Linked DNA regions of Homo sapiens: regions 1, 2, 3, 5, 6 and 7 are each linked to region 4. Evidence: promoter capture Hi-C in 16 types of primary human blood cells and fetal thymus (Javierre and others, 2016). All regions are on one chromosome and are shown on one strand. The core of a region is centred on a gene start or on the middle of the fragment in contact, and the rest is flanking DNA. Distances in the headings are between cores, read along the strand shown.

What was found. The method cuts DNA at HindIII sites, captures the fragments that hold promoters and counts their contacts. A CHiCAGO score of 5 or more calls a contact.
Region 1: a contact is called between a fragment that was not itself captured here and the fragment with the promoter of CD93 in region 4, in 2 of 17 cell types (neutrophils and monocytes). The highest score is 7.5, in neutrophils.
Region 2: a contact is called between a fragment that was not itself captured here and the fragment with the promoter of CD93 in region 4, in 6 of 17 cell types (neutrophils, monocytes, M0 macrophages and 3 more). The highest score is 20.8, in neutrophils.
Region 3: a fragment that was not itself captured here is called in contact with the fragment with the promoter of CD93 in region 4 in 6 of 17 cell types (monocytes, endothelial precursors, M1 macrophages and 3 more); the score reaches 20.2 in monocytes.
Region 5: a contact is called between a fragment that was not itself captured here and the fragment with the promoter of CD93 in region 4, in 1 of 17 cell types (neutrophils). The highest score is 6.7, in neutrophils.
Region 6: a fragment that was not itself captured here is called in contact with the fragment with the promoter of CD93 in region 4 in 1 of 17 cell types (neutrophils); the score reaches 7.9 in neutrophils.
Region 7: a fragment that was not itself captured here is called in contact with the fragment with the promoter of CD93 in region 4 in 1 of 17 cell types (monocytes); the score reaches 9.6 in monocytes.

What each region holds. Positions count from the first base shown.
Region 1 is chr20:22,924,148-22,926,847 of GRCh38, reverse strand. All of the region lies in intron 1 of LOC107985449 (a long non-coding RNA gene), which reads right to left. Among named protein-coding and RNA genes, the nearest start is that of SSTR4, 110 kb to the left of the region's middle. The HindIII fragment of the contact is 9,183 bases long and covers 1-2,700 here.
Region 2 is chr20:23,239,958-23,242,657 of GRCh38, reverse strand. No RefSeq gene overlaps it. Among named protein-coding and RNA genes, the nearest start is that of LINC03125, 93 kb to the right of the region's middle. The HindIII fragment of the contact is 8,047 bases long and covers 1-2,700 here.
Region 3 is chr20:23,257,244-23,259,943 of GRCh38, reverse strand. No RefSeq gene overlaps it. Among named protein-coding and RNA genes, the nearest start is that of NXT1, 92 kb to the left of the region's middle. The HindIII fragment of the contact is 584 bases long and covers 1,093-1,676 here.
Region 4 is chr20:23,085,067-23,087,766 of GRCh38, reverse strand. It overlaps CD93 (CD93 molecule), which reads left to right and starts at 1,443. Exons shown (of 2, transcript NM_012072.4): 1 at 1,443-2,700. The coding sequence starts at 1,575. RefSeq lists an enhancer at 1,280-1,459. The HindIII fragment of the contact is 6,182 bases long and covers 1-2,700 here.
Region 5 is chr20:22,898,793-22,901,492 of GRCh38, reverse strand. No RefSeq gene overlaps it. Among named protein-coding and RNA genes, the nearest start is that of SSTR4, 140 kb to the left of the region's middle. The HindIII fragment of the contact is 328 bases long and covers 1,277-1,604 here.
Region 6 is chr20:22,948,431-22,951,130 of GRCh38, reverse strand. The region is part of intron 1 of LOC107985449 (a long non-coding RNA gene); the gene reads right to left. Among named protein-coding and RNA genes, the nearest start is that of SSTR4, 86 kb to the left of the region's middle. The HindIII fragment of the contact is 6,397 bases long and covers 1-2,700 here.
Region 7 is chr20:23,275,315-23,278,014 of GRCh38, reverse strand. No RefSeq gene overlaps it. Among named protein-coding and RNA genes, the nearest start is that of NXT1, 74 kb to the left of the region's middle. The HindIII fragment of the contact is 502 bases long and covers 1,189-1,690 here.

The DNA of each region.
Region 1 (2,700 bases), core at 83-2,582, 160 kb after region 4:
AAAGGGAGAAGTGAGGGAAGAAGAGACCAGGAAGAAGCAGGAAAGAACATGCTTTCCAAAGAGGTGAGCTGTGGTTGTCCTGGAAATATGTGGAAGGAGACATTTGAAGTAATAGTGTAAGAAAATGCAGTTTGTATGGTTTGCAGGTGATCGAGAGGTGAAAAGTCATCCCTGAGCAGAGCCATAACGTGACTAACAATATCATTCAGAAACAAAGGCAGAGTGAGAAGAGGATAGATTAAAGAAGGGCAAACTTAGACTCAGTGAGACCAGGTATTTGGCTGCTGAGATAATCAGAGAAGAAAAGTTAATGTATCTCAACCAGGATCATGGTGGGAGGCAAGGCAAGGCAAGGAAGGCTTGAAGCTCAGTCTTTAATGACCTTTAAGAGTAGGTGAGCAAGAGGACTTGCTTAGCACCAGTTCAGTGGCCCATCCTACTCATGGCCTCTGTTTTCTAGTCATTATCTGTGCTTTATTGGTCATAGAAAGAGGCAAGAGCCTTACCAATGGAAGGTGTTGAGTCAGGAGAGGAGTCTAGTGTCCTCTGGACCCTGTCCCTCTTTTTTGGGTAGACAATCTGGAACAAAGGAACCACCAATTTTCTGTTTGCCAAACTTCCCATAAAAGTGTGAATGAATCAGATTCATAAGGAGATGATTTCTCTTATTTTGAAATGTGGGTTTAACATTTTTAGAGGAGAAATGGCTTTATAAAATGTGTTTTGCTCAACTGAAAACATTTGAGGAAAAATAGGAAATTAAGGCACTGCCATGGGCTCTTCAACCTTATCTTCTGGTATGTCAGATTTCAAAAGATAACCATCTTCTTTGTCTAGAGATTTTCAGAGTTCAGAGTTGAATCCAACATTGCCTTTCTAGAGGGCATTAGTGAGCCATCAGAATGTCTAGGGATGAAGGCCCTGGAGGCCACTGCCCCCACCCACTCGACACCTCTAGTGACATTTAAGACTGGAGTGGAGAGCAAGTAGTCCCCTGCAAGCTGTAATGGGTCCGCAGTCTTTCTCTCATGCTCTTGAAGTTCGTGATGAGTACTCATTAGTCAGCCTCACGTCAGTGCTGATGTGAGGCTCTGGACTCAATTTCCTGGTCTGAGGTATTCCTCTTGCAGTTGCCTTCTGTTCAGCCAGAAAGGCAGACAAAGATGGCAGCAAGGTGTCTTCAAAACTCTAGAAATTAAGTTATCAAATGAAACATAAACAATTTTTGAATTACAGAATTGAGAAAAAAAAAAAAAAACTAGTGAGCCCTGTCTCTGCGAGAAGGTTGTCATCTTTGGAAACTTTTGAGGTTGAGAACCAGACCCTGAGACATGGCAGGCTATCTGAGGACAGACCAGCATGTGAGACATTGTGGCTGTGAGCAGCTGGCTTTTCTCTGGTGACAGCCTTTGCCCTCCACCCCAGACCTAAATGTCAAGAGGAAGCAGAAGTTTGGGCAGATGATGGAACGTGGTGATGGAAGGCTGCTTTGATTGAGACTTATATAAACTTCACTGTTTCCTGGGAACGAACAGGGGGAAAAGAAAAAAAAAAAAAAACACTGACCAGTCTCACACTTCACTGAGGGGAAAAGAAGCAAATGGCAATAATACAAGTTAAGTAGACACAAAGGAAAAGGAGAGGGGAAGAGAGAGGGAGAGGGTGGAGTTCTATGTGATTCTTGAATGTGCTGGTGTTGGAACAGAGATGGGTGGGGATTCAAGTCCCTCTCCAGTACTCACTGTCAGTGAGGACAAGCAGCTGCCCTCACTGACCACAGACCCTGCATCCATAAAGTGGGGATAACAGAAGATGCTCCTCACCAGACTGTGCAGGAACAGAAGATGTGTCATGTACTTGGCACATGGCTGAATACAGAAAAATCTTTAAAAATTTGGGGGTAGAAATAGAGGGAAAGTTTTGAGAAAATTTTCACCACTTCAGAAACTGGGGAGAGCTAAGACCACAGACAGAAGACAGAACAGTGGAGGACATGGGATTCTTCTTCCGCCTTCTCTCCCAGGGGCAGTGAACGTGCCTATGTCTTGGAAATAGGAGGGGGGTCAAATTTCCTCTCTGTCCTGGGGGACTCTTTTGCAGACTTAGGCAAGTGATTTCATGACATCTCTGGCTCCCACTGCTTGCTGCTTTCCTGCTGGGGCCACAGGTAACTCAAGTTTCTGTGGTGGGCCTGTTGGGTTCTCCTTAGAGTCTGGGTTGCTGGAGCCATGAGCCTAAACTGTATCCTTCCTGGAGATCTCTGCTACCAGTTCATTGCTGAATCATCCTTGTGTTCATGATTCAACACCCTTCAAAGAGGTCATTTCTCCTCATACAGTTTTTGTTGCTGAATTTCCACCTGGACACGGTTTATTATCAACTCTTACCTACGCTCTTTTATCCTCCCTGCTTCCTACCTCCTGCTCCCTTTTATCCTCTTCTTCAACAAGTTTCTCTTTTTGACTATTCCTACTTGACAATTACTATGCAAAGCATTAATTATTAACATTTGACATGTTATACTGAACTGAAATCAGCACCCAAGCTGCCCCAGCCAGCCAACTTTTGGGAGTCAGCTACTCATGAAACAGCTCACTTGCCTGATGAGAGACTCACGGCAGCTGCAGTCTGGGAAGGAGGGCTTGGCACGGCAAGGGTGGGCTGGTAATGTGTTCCAGGGAAACCAGCTGTGTCTCAGAC
Region 2 (2,700 bases), core at 99-2,598, 150 kb before region 4:
ATCTGGCTAGCCACCTGTTTTTGCATGACCCATGGATTTTACATTTTTAGGCGGCTGGGAAGACTAATATTGCAAAACACCCCAAAATTATATGAAATTCAAAGTTCAGTGTGTATAATAAAGTTTTACTGGAACACAGTGACACAATTTGTTTATATATTGCCTATGGCTACTTTGAAGCTACAGCAGCAAGTTAACCAGTTGCAGCAGAGACTGGGTGGCCCCCACAGCCTGAAATGTTTGCTGTCTGCTCTTCACACAAGAAGTTTGCTCACCTGGTTCAGACTGTGAACTACCCTGCAAAGATATTAGGTCAAGCCCAAGGGTCAAGAAGGGTGCAGGCTGGCCCCTGTGTCTATTTCACTATCAGGGCCCTTCTGTGATTCCTCAGACATTTCCGTCCACAACCAGATGTAGGAAAATGTATGGACACTGGGGAGGGAGGGTGCTGAAGAGGAGAGGCTGGGGAGAGAGCACGTGTGTGTGTGAGTAGGCACCACAGAATGATGCTGGCAAATCCTAGGGCTGGTGGCCTGATGGGAACCAAGGCTCCTCTCTGCCCTCTCCAGCCAGGTGCAAATGTTTACCCGGTGGCTCCTAAGGAATGATGGGGACAAAACTTAAGTCATTGAGCTTTTTCTGACAAGCATAATGCCACATACATCTTGAATTCATCACGATTTTATTTTTAGATGTTTTCCTCACTACTTTCACTAAAGCCTCAGAGTCAAGAAAAATTCCAGGGGTCCTTTGCTGGTTGGTGAATTGAGGAGTGTCCCTGCAGTGGCATGGTGCCTGGTGATATGAGCCGGGTGGCAAGGGCAGTGAAAGTGTGACAGTTCTCCCCCAGCTCTGCTGAGGGCAGCATCCCAGAACTGGCCAGGCAGGGGGCCCAGGTTGCCTGGGCTCTGCCTCTCCTCTTCCTCCCTCAGACCTTCTGCTTCCCTTAGATGTCCTGTCAGCCTACTGTCCTGCCAGTCCTCTGAGCAGTGCCTCATGGACCCCACTTCTATCATCCACTTCCTCCCACCAGTGGATCCATCTGGTTGATGGAAAGAACCAGTGCAGGGACCTCACGTACATGAGTGAGCAAGTGCTGTAAACCCTTCAATAATTTGTACTTCAAAAGATGCTTGTTGGCCGGACATGGTGGCTCAAGTCTATAATCCCAGCATTTTGAGAGCCCGAGGCAGGCAGATCACTTGAGCCCAGGAATTCAAGACCAGCCTGAGCAAATGGCTGGTCTCTACAAAAAAACTCTACAAAAACATCTCTACAAAAAATTAAAAAATTAGCCAGCCATGATGGTTCATGTCTATAGTCCCAGCTACTCAGGAGGCTGAGGTGGGGGGATCTCTCAAGCCCAGGAGGTGGATGTTGCAGTGAACTGAGATAGCGCCACTGCACTCCAGCCTGAGTGACACAGGGAAGCCCCCCCAGCAAAGAAAAATATAAGATGTGTTGTTTTCCTAAAGGATTTTTTAAAGGCAAAAGCAAAGTCAATGCTCACTTCTATTGATTGATTGAAGTACAGTTGATCCTTGAACAACATGGGTCCATTTTAGACATTTTAAACTGTACAGTTCAGTGGCATTAAGTACGTTCGAACTATCACCACCATCCACTTCCAGAACCTTCTTTCTTTCCAAACTGAAACTCTACACCCATCAAACAACAACTCTCTATTCCCCTTTCCCCAAACACCAATTGTTTTTTAAGATTTATTCTTGTTGACAATGCATGAATAGCATGTTTATTTTAATCAATGTGTAGCATTCCAGTATATGAATATGTCATACTTTATCTATTTTGCTATTGGTGGATATTTAGGTCATTTCAGTTTTTACTTGTTGCAAATGGTGCTTTAAAAAAAACCACACCATGTATATTTCCTATTGTGCATGCATTTCAGAGATTGATACCTAGATTTTCTACAATAAAGTTTGCTGAGTCATGGGACAAGCTCAATTTTTAATATTATCTGATATTACCAGCTAGCTCTTCAAAGATGTCTCATCAGCAGTGTATACGAATTCACAATTTCCTAGCACACTTTCAACACTTGTTAGTGTAGGATTTGTTAGATTTTTCTTTCTTAAGAATTGAACATTTGGCAGGGTGTGGTGGCTCACACCTATAATCCCAACCTTTGGGAGGCCAAGGCAGGTGGATGAGCTGAGGTCAGGAGTTCAAGACCAGCTTGGCCAACATGGTGAAACCCCATCTCTATAAAAATACAAAAATTAGCTGGGCATGATGGCAGGTGCCTGTAATCCCAGCTCTTGGGGCAGCTGAGGTGGGAGAATCACTTGAACCTGGGAGGAGGAGGTTGCAGTGAGTTGAGATCATGCCATTGCACTCCAGCCTGGGTGACAAAGTGAGACTCTGTCTCAAAAAAAAAAAAAAAAGAATTGAACATATGATATTGTTATAGTGGATAGCTAGTCAAACACAAACAGGGCAGGAGAGGACGTCCACTTCCCCACCAGGAATGCCAGGTGACCATCAGGTGATGGTCAGGTGGTTGTAACACTCCCTCTCTAAAATAATAATTGGTCGCATCCAGTGCTAGGGAAAGGCAGTTTCCCAATAGATAAAAACACCTGTAACTGGTGATTGGCAGCCTCCTAATAAGATCTTAGGAACTGGACGAGTGGGCTCAGGCATGCGGATTAAGAGGCAAAATGAAAAAAAAGCAGG
Region 3 (2,700 bases), core at 135-2,634, 170 kb before region 4:
ACTTTTCAAATACAAATCACTAATTTATTCTCAAACTCTCCTCCAGTTACTTAAGATATCCACACCAGATACTCTTAATTTCTTTTTCTTGAAGAAGTCTCTCCTAGAGCCCCTGACTCCTCCAGTCTGGACTGAGGTCTAGATCTGGTGCATCACTGCCATCCTGGCATCTTCACTTGGAGTTCCTCCAGAGAGTCTCCTCTCCTCTCCTGTGCTGGATTTTCTGCTTCTTGGATTCTGTCTCACCACATTCTTTGATTCATTCTCTTAATTTGATGGAGTACAAACTCCAGTAGCTTCTTCAGAGAGAGAAGTGAAGGAACATTTCTGAGATCTCACATATTTGAAAATGTCTACAGTCTACCTTCCTACTTAATTGACTGGCTGGTGCTATGATCTGAATGTTGTTTGTCCCCCCAAAATTCTTATGTTGGAACCAAATCCCCAGTGCAATAGTATTAAGAGGTGGGGTTTTTGGGGGGTGATGAGGTCATGAGGGCTCAACCTTCATAAATGGGATTAGTACCCCAGGGAGCTTATCTGTCCCTTCCACCATTTGCATAGACAGGGAGGGGCTGGCTGTCTATGAAGTAGAGACTGAGCACTCGTCAGACACTGAATCTGCTGACACCTTGATCTTGGACTTTACAGCCTCCAGGACTGTGAGAAATTAATTTCAGTTGTTTATAAATTACCCAATCTAAGGCATTATGTTATGGTAGCCTGAATGGAGTAAGACAACCAGGTATAGAATTCTAGGTTGCAAATTATTTACTTTCACAATTGAGAAAGTTTTTGTTTGTTTGTTTGTTTTTTTGTTTTAAGATAGAGTCCCACTCTATCACCCAGGCTGGAGTGCAGTGGAGTGATCTCGGCTCACTGCACTCCAGCCTGGGCAATGGGCTGGGGAGCCTCCACCTCCCTGGTTCAAGCGAGTCTCATGCCTCAGCCTTCTGAGTAGGTGGGATTACAGGCACCTGCCACCACACGCAGCTAAGAGAAAGTCTTATGTCTTTGATTTATGTCTTGTAGCTTCCAGTGTGGCTGCAGAGAAGTCAGATGGCTTGCAACCCTTGATCTTTGGTATAAGCTTTTATGGTTTTGCTCTAGAATGCATAGGGATTTTTGATCTTAGTCTATTTTCTCCCAATGTGCTGGGCTCTTGAAGGGCACTCTCACCCTGGAAATTTTGTCCTGCAGTCATCTTTAGCCAGATTAGCAGGATATATTCCACAATGGTGTGGTTTATGATGCAGCTGGTTGGTTCCCTTGGTCTTGGCAGACAGAGTTTTCCCCTTCCCAGCTATGACTGCCTTGGAGCCTAGAGGAAGTTGAGTCACTTCCTGATACAAATCACAAACTGTGAAAAATGTTATGCTTGCAAGTGAATTTTCCACATATCTGAAGTAATGATGGCATAACAGGAGCTTTAAAAACACCGAGGCTTCATTGACACTAAACTGTAGAGCTTATAAAGTAATATGCAACCCATTGTCAGCTACTGAAAGATGAATGGGCCATTCAGGCTTCCGCTCTGGACTCGCCCAGGTTAATTCCCTCTTGCTCAGCCTAAGTGGCTTAGGAGTGAGCAGGGGGTTATTGGAAAGAGGAGGCTGACTATAAAAAAATCCTAGCAATATTGCATTCTGGGTTTATCAGTCATCAGGCACCAAGCTTTCTCACCAACAACATTTGCACAAATTCAGGCCAACCTCTAATCAATGATGCAATCCTTTCTCCTCTAAAGAAAGCCTTTTGAGTGTTTAATGGCATAATGATGGCTGCTGTTGATAAGGCTCACTCTGGGAGGTATGGCATCGGGCTTTATAAATGCTGCTTTTATGCCTCTGCACTGCGATGCCAGGCAGGGGTGATTATCCTCTCGTGATTTTGAATGAGCTGTGATTGGAACACTGTAGCACACTTGCCCAGGGCAGCAGAGACCAGATTCACATCTAGGTCTTTTTGCTTCAATTCCCCGGCTACTGGGCCACACTTCTCTTGATCCTCAGGTGGAAACATGTATATACTGACAGAGGAGAAAAGGGATGGCAGCCTATGAGGTGACCCTGTGGTGTGAGCATGAAGGCACGCCCTTCTGGGATGGGGGCTGTGTTCCTTTCCAGACAAACCACACAGGATAAAAACTGCTCCTTAGGTAGCACAGGATTATTGAAGGCCCTGAGCCTGGGGCAGAGCCTGGGCTCTGACATTAGCTGTGCCTCCTTGAGAAAGAGCTCTGCGCCTGATATTTTTTATTTGTAGATTGGAAATGAAAGTGCTGGCCTATTTGTGGTCACAGTGCTCTGTGAGGGCTCAGATGAGTAAGGTGTCTGCTAAGCAGTTGTAGAAACCTGGAAGCCCTGAGTGATTTTTTTCACCTGCAACTCCCAACTTCTTCAGTATGCTGGGTGTGGAGCTGAGGAATCGCTGCCCGAATAGACAGGTCTGTGCGCTTAAGTAGCTGGGTGGGTTTCTGCTTACATAGCACTTTTACTGTGGGAGAGAAAAGTGGCCAGCTTCTCTCTGGCCTGGCACTGGTACACTTGCCTTGAGGTGGGGGTGCGTCTCTTGGAACCCGGTGTGGAAGCGGAGCCTCTTCCTCCTGGGTGGGCGTGGGGCCCCTTGGGCTCCAGCCAGGATGGAGGGCAGGGTCTGGGGGAAGTGGGAGGGGCTGGGCTCATCTGCTCCCGGGGGAGG
Region 4 (2,700 bases), core at 194-2,693:
CCCGTGGGGTGCACTGCCCTCTCCCTGGGATCTGTAAGTGACACGGTGCTTGTGTTGCTTCCTGTGTCTTCTTGTGCTGCCTCCTGCATCTCCCCTGACCCACACCCCAACCCAACTCTCCTCCCATCAGGGATCTCTTAGGAAGTGGCTGTCTTGATAGGAATAAACTGGACATGGGTCAGACGAGAGCCACAAGGGTGTCTGTCCATAGAAACAAGTTTTATGTGAGAGAGACCCCTGGTCACTGGGCAGGGCTAGAATTTATAGTCAGTCTCTCAAAGTGAGAGATACAGCCTGCTACCAATGACAGGGGACTTGGAGAGCAGTGGAGCCTCTCCCTCAGCTGAGATGGTGCTGAGGTGTGGTCCCCTCAGGCCCCCAGAGTTTCCTGGCACTGGCTCCAGCAGCCCAGGGTCACCTTCTCAGCAAGTCATCATGGGTTGGCTTCCTCCTTGTCTGTTTCACTTCCCCTCCCACATAAACTAGTCTCCCCAAATCCTGTCTCAGGGTCCCCTCCTGGGGGATCCCAACCAATGAGCAAAGGTCTGTGGCTGCAGGAAAAGCACACTGTGAGTCCCTGGCTTTTGCCGAGTCGCGGTGTCGCGGGAGGGCCTGCCCGGGCTTCGATTCCCGCTCCCTGCCCAGATTTCCGGCCCTTGCTAGGAATCCTGAGCCGGGGGAAGTGAGCCTGCAAGCCCTGCGCCACGAGGCCGGACACATTTTCATTTTCTTTCTGATGCTTTTTGTGACCCTGACACCTCACAATGCAATATTTCCACTATGAAACCCCCAGAACTGCCAAATTTCACCCAATTTGGATTAACATTATCGAGGAGCTTGGCATTATGTTGAAAACCCAGACATTCCCACGACCCGTATCCTATTTAAAAAATGCCTGTCTATTTAAGGTTCACGATGGGAGGATAAAAGAAAAAAGGCTCCCAAAGTCAACAGAGAACATGAGCTAGGCAAAAGGAAAGTCCAGTTTGCTTCTAAAAAAGGCTGAAAATTATAACCATCCATGGCCTTGTGTCTTAAGTCTCAGAATTTTTTTTTTCTCTTTTGGTGGTTTGCAAACCAAAGTGGAATTTTATTATGGGTTACTAAGGGAGCTTCCTCGAGTTCCTAGCCCCCAAAGCCCCTGCTCACTCCATGGCATGCCTCCGAGGCTCCTCATGCCATGAGAAAGAGAATGGAGCCAAAATCAAGCCGGCAGTATCTCGGGGCTGTAACGTCTTCCCCCCGTCGCTGTTTCCACAGTGCTGAGCCAGGGACCCGGCAGAGCTGCCTGACTCCTTTTATGAACAACAGCACCGTGATGAAGGCAGCAGGAGTCAGAGAACTATTCATTGCAGGAAGCCCCAACATCCGGTGAGAAATAAGAAGTACAACAGTACAGGATGCGCCTTGGGTCAGGGGGACGTGGAAAGCCCTCAGCCTTTGTGTCCTTCTCTGCGCCGGAGTGGCTGCAGCTCACCCCTCAGCTCCCCTTGGGGCCCAGCTGGGAGCCGAGATAGAAGCTCCTGTCGCCGCTGGGCTTCTCGCCTCCCGCAGAGGGCCACACAGAGACCGGGATGGCCACCTCCATGGGCCTGCTGCTGCTGCTGCTGCTGCTCCTGACCCAGCCCGGGGCGGGGACGGGAGCTGACACGGAGGCGGTGGTCTGCGTGGGGACCGCCTGCTACACGGCCCACTCGGGCAAGCTGAGCGCTGCCGAGGCCCAGAACCACTGCAACCAGAACGGGGGCAACCTGGCCACTGTGAAGAGCAAGGAGGAGGCCCAGCACGTCCAGCGAGTACTGGCCCAGCTCCTGAGGCGGGAGGCAGCCCTGACGGCGAGGATGAGCAAGTTCTGGATTGGGCTCCAGCGAGAGAAGGGCAAGTGCCTGGACCCTAGTCTGCCGCTGAAGGGCTTCAGCTGGGTGGGCGGGGGGGAGGACACGCCTTACTCTAACTGGCACAAGGAGCTCCGGAACTCGTGCATCTCCAAGCGCTGTGTGTCTCTGCTGCTGGACCTGTCCCAGCCGCTCCTTCCCAGCCGCCTCCCCAAGTGGTCTGAGGGCCCCTGTGGGAGCCCAGGCTCCCCCGGAAGTAACATTGAGGGCTTCGTGTGCAAGTTCAGCTTCAAAGGCATGTGCCGGCCTCTGGCCCTGGGGGGCCCAGGTCAGGTGACCTACACCACCCCCTTCCAGACCACCAGTTCCTCCTTGGAGGCTGTGCCCTTTGCCTCTGCGGCCAATGTAGCCTGTGGGGAAGGTGACAAGGACGAGACTCAGAGTCATTATTTCCTGTGCAAGGAGAAGGCCCCCGATGTGTTCGACTGGGGCAGCTCGGGCCCCCTCTGTGTCAGCCCCAAGTATGGCTGCAACTTCAACAATGGGGGCTGCCACCAGGACTGCTTTGAAGGGGGGGATGGCTCCTTCCTCTGCGGCTGCCGACCAGGATTCCGGCTGCTGGATGACCTGGTGACCTGTGCCTCTCGAAACCCTTGCAGCTCCAGCCCATGTCGTGGGGGGGCCACGTGCGTCCTGGGACCCCATGGGAAAAACTACACGTGCCGCTGCCCCCAAGGGTACCAGCTGGACTCGAGTCAGCTGGACTGTGTGGACGTGGATGAATGCCAGGACTCCCCCTGTGCCCAGGAGTGTGTCAACACCCCTGGGGGCTTCCGCTGCGAATGCTGGGTTGGCTATGAGCCGG
Region 5 (2,700 bases), core at 191-2,690, 190 kb after region 4:
TTTTTAACATGACAGGATGCTGAATTTTATTAAAATCTTTTTCTGCATCTATTGAAATGATCAGGTGGTTTTTGTTTTTAGTTCTGTTTATGTGATGAATCACATTTGTTGACTTGCATATGTTGAACCAACCTTGCATTCCATGAATAAAGCCTACTTGATTGTGGGGGTTTAGCTTTTTGATGTGTGCTGGATTCAGTTTACTAATATTTTGTTGAGGATTTTTGCATCTATTTTTATCAGGGATATTGGCCTGAAGTTTTCTTTTTTCATTGTGTCTCTGCCAGGTTTTGATATCAGAATGATACTGGCCCCATAGAATAAGTTAGGGAGTAGTCTCTACTTCTCAATTTTTTTGGAATAGCTTCAATAGAATTGATACCAACTCTTATTTATGCTTCTGGTAGAATTTTGTTATGAATCCATCTGGTCTAGGGATTTTTCTGATTGGTAGGCTTTTTATCACTGATTCAATTTTGGAACTCACTGTTGGTATGTTCATAGTTTTAATGTCTTTCTGATTCAATCTTGGGAGGTTGTATGTTTCTAGGAATTTATCCATTCTGGTGGGTTTTTTAGTTTGTGTGCATAGAAGTGTTCATAATAGTCTCTGATGATTTTCTATTTCCATAGGGTTGGTGGCAATGTCCCCTTTGTCATTTATGATTACTTATTAGAATCTTCTCTTTTTGTTTTTCTTTATTAGTCTAGCTTGCAGTCTATCAATATTATTTACTCTTTTATAGAACCAACTTTTGGTTTTGTTGATCTTTTGTATAGTTTTCACCTCTCAATTTTGTTCAGCTCAGCTCTGATTTTGATTATTTCTTTATTTCTGCTAGGTTTAGGGTTGGTTTACTCTTGTTTCTCTAGTTCCTTTAGGTGTGATTTTAGGTTGTTAATTTGAAATCTTTCTAACTTTTTGATGTGGGCACTTAGCACTATAAACTTTCCTTTTAACATTGCTTTAGTTATGCCTCAGAGATTCTGGCATGTTTTATCATTGTTTTCATTAGTTTCAAATAATTTCATGATTTTGGCCTTAATTTCATTGTTACCCAAAAGTCATTCAGGAACAGGTTGTTTAATTTCCATGTAATTGTATGGTTTTGAGAGATCTTCTTGGTATGGATTTCTGCTTTTATGGTGCTATTGTCTAAAAGTGTGGTTTGTATGAGTTTGGTTTTTTTGAATGTATTGGTGGATCTAGCTATTTAGTAGGTAAGCAAACAACTCACAGGACACTAGCAGTCTGCTTCCTCTGTAAGACCAAGCTTGTGCTCTTGAAGGTATCATCTTGTTTCAACCACACAGTAGCCTGTGAGCTCAATCTGTGCATTGATGTTTCACTAGTGAGGAAGTGGAGGCCTCCAAGTCTCCCTCCCAACCATTAGCACCTAGATTTCTTACCTCCCTGTTTCCTCTGGCCACCAGAGTTTTCTCTGCCCAAGCATGACAGGCAGGAAGTGCTGGAAACAGTGACTCTCCAGAGCTGCCCTCAACTCAGTGGCTAGTGGGGTGGAGGGTAAGGACCCCAGCTCCCTCCCATTTCATGTGGGATGGCTCTGAGGTGTGGTAGCAGATTTCTCCAGCAGAACCAAGCTTCAGCTACCTACCGGTCCCCTGCTTGTTAACAAACACTCCACTAACTGGCTTTCCTACCTGATCTCTCTTCTCCACTTTCCTACCAGTCATCACCTCCCAGATAAGCTACTTATACTGTAATCTGTGTCTCAGGATTGGCTTCTGGGAAAAACAGAAATGAAAATAATGTTCTCTCCCTCTTAGAAAAAGAAAAGACTTGTCCTAACAGACAAAAGTTCCCTTCAGTGGCAGTATGGGGGCTCTAACCAATTGTCCTACCACCTTTCCTGTACAAGGGCCTGGAAGCATAGAGCCCAGCACTTCTGCTTCCTACTACAGCACTTTTCCAAGTCTGCTGTGCTCAAGTCTTTAAACTCATTGCAACTATAAAAGCAGAGGGTGGCTTTTACCTTGGCCTAGAGGAAAATAATGCAGAGTTAGAAACATGCAAGGGAGAGAAGGAAAGAATAGAAATGAATTAGCTTAGAGACCCTGCCATTTCTCTATGCCCATCTCGCTATGCTGTGGATACTAGCATGAACATTTGCTTGGGGGAGGACGGGAGTGGTTGATGGCAAAGATTTTTTTTTAATTTTTATTGAAGCAATTTTTCTTATATGCTCTGGAAAAAAAACAGGTATGACTGTGGCTAATCTGTTATTCTCAGGCATGGTGGATGCCAAGAAGGGACTGTAAATCAAGGGCAGCTATCAAACCCAAAGAACCTAATAATCATGTCCTGGAATATTTCATGTGAATACCCATGTGAAAACTTCTACTCTTTGATTTCAACATCATTAAAGTACTAACTAGGCCTGAAACACCATAATTCAGTTCAGTGGGAAGGAATCAATGTTGACTCAGAAATAACTTAGGAAGAAAAATTCTACAGCATGCAGTAAAGAGATATGCAGGGACTTTGGATTTTCTCTTTTACTTTAAGACAGATCTGGAAAACTCAAGACTGAGGTGAGAACAGAAACACATACCATGGGTGAACTGGAAAAGTGAATGTAAGCCTGTCAGTGTCCCAACTCTTGGGTTGGGAGCTTTTTAAAGACTTTGCTTCAGGAGAGCACTTGCTCTTCTCTCATGCCTGTAGCTGTGGAGGGGAGT
Region 6 (2,700 bases), core at 65-2,564, 140 kb after region 4:
TTCAATACAATTCAATACAATACAATCAGAAATCAAGTTTTTTTAAAAAAATTCTTCATGAATTGATTTTGTGAAGTTATACTTTGTCTAGAATTTTGTCCATTCTGTGCACATTTCCAAATGAAAAACTGAGTTTTTCAATGGCACTAGTCAGTTTCTCTGTAGCTACACACGGCTGGGGGCTACTGTATTGGGTAGTGTAGATGTGAAAGAGTTGCATATTAGCACAGAAAGGTCTTTTGGACAATCCTGAACGCTAAGTATTTCAATCACTTTGTCCTCATGGACTTGGATATATTTATTTTATTAAGCTGAGTGTTTTCATGCATCTGTTATTTTTAACTTCTCTTCCTCCCACCCTTACGTCACTCAACATTGGATGATTCTTGGAGTTTTGAGTTGTCTTTTTCAGCCTTATGTCATAATTGCTAAATTTAATCCATTGAATAGGGACAGAAAGGTGATGGGATGAACTCACACTTGTGCTTCAGCTGAGATGGTACAGGGACCTCATTCCTGCACGACAAAAGAGAACACTGAGGTTCTAGCTTCTCCTCGACTTCCATTTCTCTTGACAGAGAACCCCTGTGTGGGGCCACGTAGAGTCCTGGGAGATGTAGCTTAAAGCCCTCAAGGGGGTGTGGTTGGGGAAATACTCTCTCTAAGCACTTCTACCATTGCTAGGTGCCTCCTCGGTTGCAAGAATTGAAGAAAGCTCTACTTCCCAGATGCAAGACCATGCCGCGAGGCTTATCCAGTACTCCAGTTTCAGACATGAGAGCAAATCTACCCAGGACTAGAAGCCATCATCCTGAGGTCACATCTCTGCCTCCTCACCCTCTCTGATGTGAAATTAAACTTAACTATTGTCCAGATCCCAGTTCAAGTTTCTTTTATCGCAGAACCTTAGTTTTCTATCTCCTCGGGGGAGATGATAATACTTACAAGGAGACAGTGGGAATTGTTATCTGAGGATGTTTGTAGCATTACCAAGGCAGAATCCAGCTGAGAATGGACACTCAGCACAGAGCTTTTTCTTCCTGAGTCAAAGGCTGTCTCTGACGCCAGGGTCTCAGATGTTCACACTGTGGGTGGTGGTGGCCTTTTCATGTGGTTATTCTTCTTAGTGCTTGGGTTATGAGCTCCTTAAGAAAGGAGGTGCCTCTCATATATTCCACTGGGTCATATATTTAGAACATGGCCTTTAGGCAAATATTTACTGTTAGACAGATTATTGCCTTGCTAATTTCTGGCATCAACTGTGTCTTTGTTGAGAAGGAAGGCTGACTCATAGTCTCAAGACCATGGGGAGACAATGTATTTAACTAATATTTAATTTATATTTGTTGCACAACTATATGGTCAAGAAATACAGTGGGAGAAAGAGAAATATAGTTTCATCCCTACCCATGGTAACAATCAACTCGTGGCATGAGAACAGTCTTTAATTTTGGTTCTTTGAGAATGACAAATGGTCAGATTTCACAGAACCCTTTCATGGGATGAAGAACTCAGAGAGGGCCTGGGCCCACAAGGGGCTGTCTGGGGTCTGTTCCCAGACTGTGGTTTGACTGGGCGTTGTCTGTGGGGTTTTTAGTGATTGTGCCATTGGTGGCCTTGGCTCCAAGTTGCAGTTGTTAAAAGGGCTATTTCATTACATTTTGTTTTCCTTATAGCATAGAGGGTGGGGAGAATGCCGGACTAGGAGTCACGATGACTCTGCTGCAGCCCTAATCTACCATTTAGATGTCAGATCCTGGCCAGTCATGCATTGCTTGGGCTGCCATGTCTTTATTCAAGACATGGGAACACCAGCCCTCTCTATTCTTATCCAGGAAAGGAATCACATTGGGAAATGGATATGATGAGTATGCAGATGCTACATAAATGTACACATATTTTTTTTCCTTTGGGCAAGTAATATAATTTTTTTCCACTTCTATGTGCAAAATGAAAATGATGATATTTACTTAGCCCAAAATACCTACTTTTAAGAATATAGGTAACATTTTTAGGAAAAAAGGAAAGAAAACAAACTTGATGTCAGTGGGTATGGGGTGGAGTCAGGTTTCTAACCCAGATATGGCCAACACTATAATTCCAATCTCTACAAACAGGGGCACCAACACTTCCCATTCTCTGTCTTTTGCAGGCAGAATAGTGGCGATTGAAGAATGGACCAAGAGCTCTGATCACTGAATAAGAAAAGTGTGTGTGTGTGTGCGTGTAGGGATTCTAAGTAATACTATTTCTGACTCAGAATTATTTAGCATCTTGAAAAAGTTTAGGATTTGTTTTAGTAGAGCTTATTTTTCAAGATTCTTCAGCTGTTAACTAACATTAACTATCTAATGCCTACAAAGTACCTTCCTCATCATAATAATTTGTGTGCTTTTTCTAAAAAAAATTGTCTGGCTAGCCAATAAAAAATTGGTTCAAATTTGCATCAAATATATGTAAATCAAAGCAGGAAGGAGTTTGAGCAGTAAGATTGGTAAAGGTCAGAAAGATTAATAAAATCTGCAACTGGTGTTGGTGTGTTGAAATAGGTACCCCTGATGGGGTCGGTGAGAGTGAAAGACTGTAACTTCTCTGCAGGATGATGCATGAAATGTGCTCATCTCCTTTTCCAATTCCAGACACTTTTTCTCAGAAGAGCATTAGGCAAGACACAGAGCCACTTGTGCAGGCTGTCCATTA
Region 7 (2,700 bases), core at 190-2,689, 190 kb before region 4:
TAATAATATATGTGTGCATATGTATAAATGTGTATATACATATATATAAAGAGAGAGAGAGAGAGAAAGAACACATGCACACCCATAAATGATTAAGCAAATGAGGTAAAATGTTAACGATAGTGAATTTGCACAAAAGGTGAATGAATGTTGTTTGTACTATTCTTGCAATTTACTCTAAGTTTAATATTATTACCAAAATTAAAAAAAACCCACTATGATACAAGATTAAAACACAAAAACAAAAAAACAAATTTGGAGTCAATCCTTCCAAACCCTGTCACTGCTTTATCAACTAAGTTCATGTAATATTCTAAATGCTTTGCTGTCATTTCAACAATCTTCAATGGCATCTTCACCAGGAATACATTTCATCTCAAGAAACTATTTTTTTTTTTTGCTCATTCATAAGAAGCAACTCTGTAGCTGTTTAAATTTTATCATGAGATTGCAGCAATTCAGTTACGTCTTCAGGCTCGGCTTCTAATTCTAGCTTGTTGTTGTTGCTGTTATTTCCACACATCTGCAGTTACTTCCTCCACTGAAGTCCTGCATCCCTCAAAGTCATACATGAGGCTTGGAATCAACTTTCAACCTCCTGTGAATGTTGATATTCTGAACTTCTTCCATGAATCTCCCTTGATAACTTGCTGCATGAATGTTCTTAATGGCATCTAGAATAATGAATCCTTTACAGGTTTTCAATTTACTTTGCCCAGTTCCATAAGACCAACACTATCTATGGCAGATATAGCCTTGTAAAATGTAGTTCCTAAATATTAAGACTTGAAAGTTGAAATTACTTCTTGATCCATGGGCTGAAGAACAGATATTGTGTTAGGAGGTGTGAAAACAACATTAATCTTGAACATCTCTATTAGAGCTTTTGGATGACCAGCTGCATTGTCAATGAACAGTAATATTTTGAAATAAATCTTGTGTGTGTGTGTGTGTGTGTGTGTGTGCAGTATTTCTCAACAGTGGGCTTCAAATATTCAGGAAACCATGCTGTAAACAGATGAGCTGTTACCTAGGCTTTGTTGTTCCAATTATAGAGCACAGGCAGAGTAGATTTAGCATAATTCTTAAGGGCCCTAGGACTTTGGGAATGGAAGATGAGCATTGGCTTTAATTTAAAGTCACCAGCTGCATTAGCCCCTAAAAAAAGTCAGCTTGTCCTTTGAAGCTTTGAAGCCAGGCATTGACTTCTCCTCTCTAGCTATGAAAGTTCTAGCTGGCATCTTCTTGCGATAGAAGGCTGTTTCATCTATGAAAATCTGTTTAGTTTAGCCACCTTCATTAATTATCTTAGCTAGATCTTGATAACTTGCTGCAGTTTCTTGTGCTTTTACATTATGGCTTTTACAGGTGGCTTCTTTCCTTAAACTTCATAAACCAATCTCTGCTAGCTTCAAACTTTTCTTCTTCAGCTGCCTTACCTCTCTCAACCTTCACTGAATTAGAGCAGAGGGCCTTGCTCTGGATTAGGCTTTGGCTTAAGGGAATGTTGTGGCTAGTTGGATCTTCTAACTCCACCACTAAAACTTTCTCAAATTCAGCAGTAAGGATGTTTCACTTTCTTATTATTCATGTGTTCACTGGAGTAGCACTTTTAATTTTCTTCAAGAACCTTTCCTTTGCATTCACAACTCGAATAACTGTTTGGCACAAGAAGCCTATCTTCTAAGCTTAATGGTTTCTAGCTTTTGATTTAAAGTGAGAAATGTGTGACTCTTCCTTTCACTTGAACACTTAGAGGTTCACCGTAGGATTACTAGTTGTCTTAATTTTAATAGTGTTATGCTTCAGGGAATAGAGAGGCCCAAGGTGAGACAGAGAGATGCGGGAACAGCTGGATGATGGAACAAACATACACAATATTTATTGATTAAATTTACTGTCTTATATGGGTGCAGTTTGTGGTGCCCCAAAACAATTACAATAGTAATATCAAAGATCACTGACCACAGACAACTGTAACAGATATAATAATGACAAAAAAGCTTTAAATATTACAAGAATTACCAAAATGTAACATCGAGACATGAAGTGAACACATGCTGTTGGAAAAATGGCGCCCATAGACTTGCTCAACACAGGGTTGCCATAACACTTCAGTTTGTACAGAATGCAATGCCTGCAAAGCATAATAAAGCAAGAACAATAAAATTAGATATGCCTGTACATCCTACAGGTTCTGTCTCTCTGGAGACCCCGACTAATCCACTTTCTAAGACTCACTGGATGGTTGGATGGAATACATAACCAGCTGAGCACTACTTTAAACTTGTGAAACTTTATATAAGCACCTAAATAAATCAGCAGGTATTACTGATGTTTCCAGTGGGAACTCGAGAAAATCAGGACAACAGCAGAGTTGGCCTGGTGAGTTTTCTCTCTCTCAACCTCCCAAGTCCTCTCAATGAGCAAGTTGTTCTTTGTCCCATAGACACACCCCAGCTATGTCTACTCATTCTCCTCCTTGAGATATTTCTCTGTGTTCTAAGGTTTTTGTTCCTCATATTTCTAATATTCTTCCTTTCCCTTCAAAACCTCCTCTTTCCCATTCATCAGGAATTTGTTTAGAAAATGAAGTGCTGTCATGAATTAAATTATCCAAAGGCACAATGGGCCATGTGGAAAGAGCCGCAGAGACCCACATTCTCACTTCAGCTCTTCCATTCGCTGGTTATGTGACCC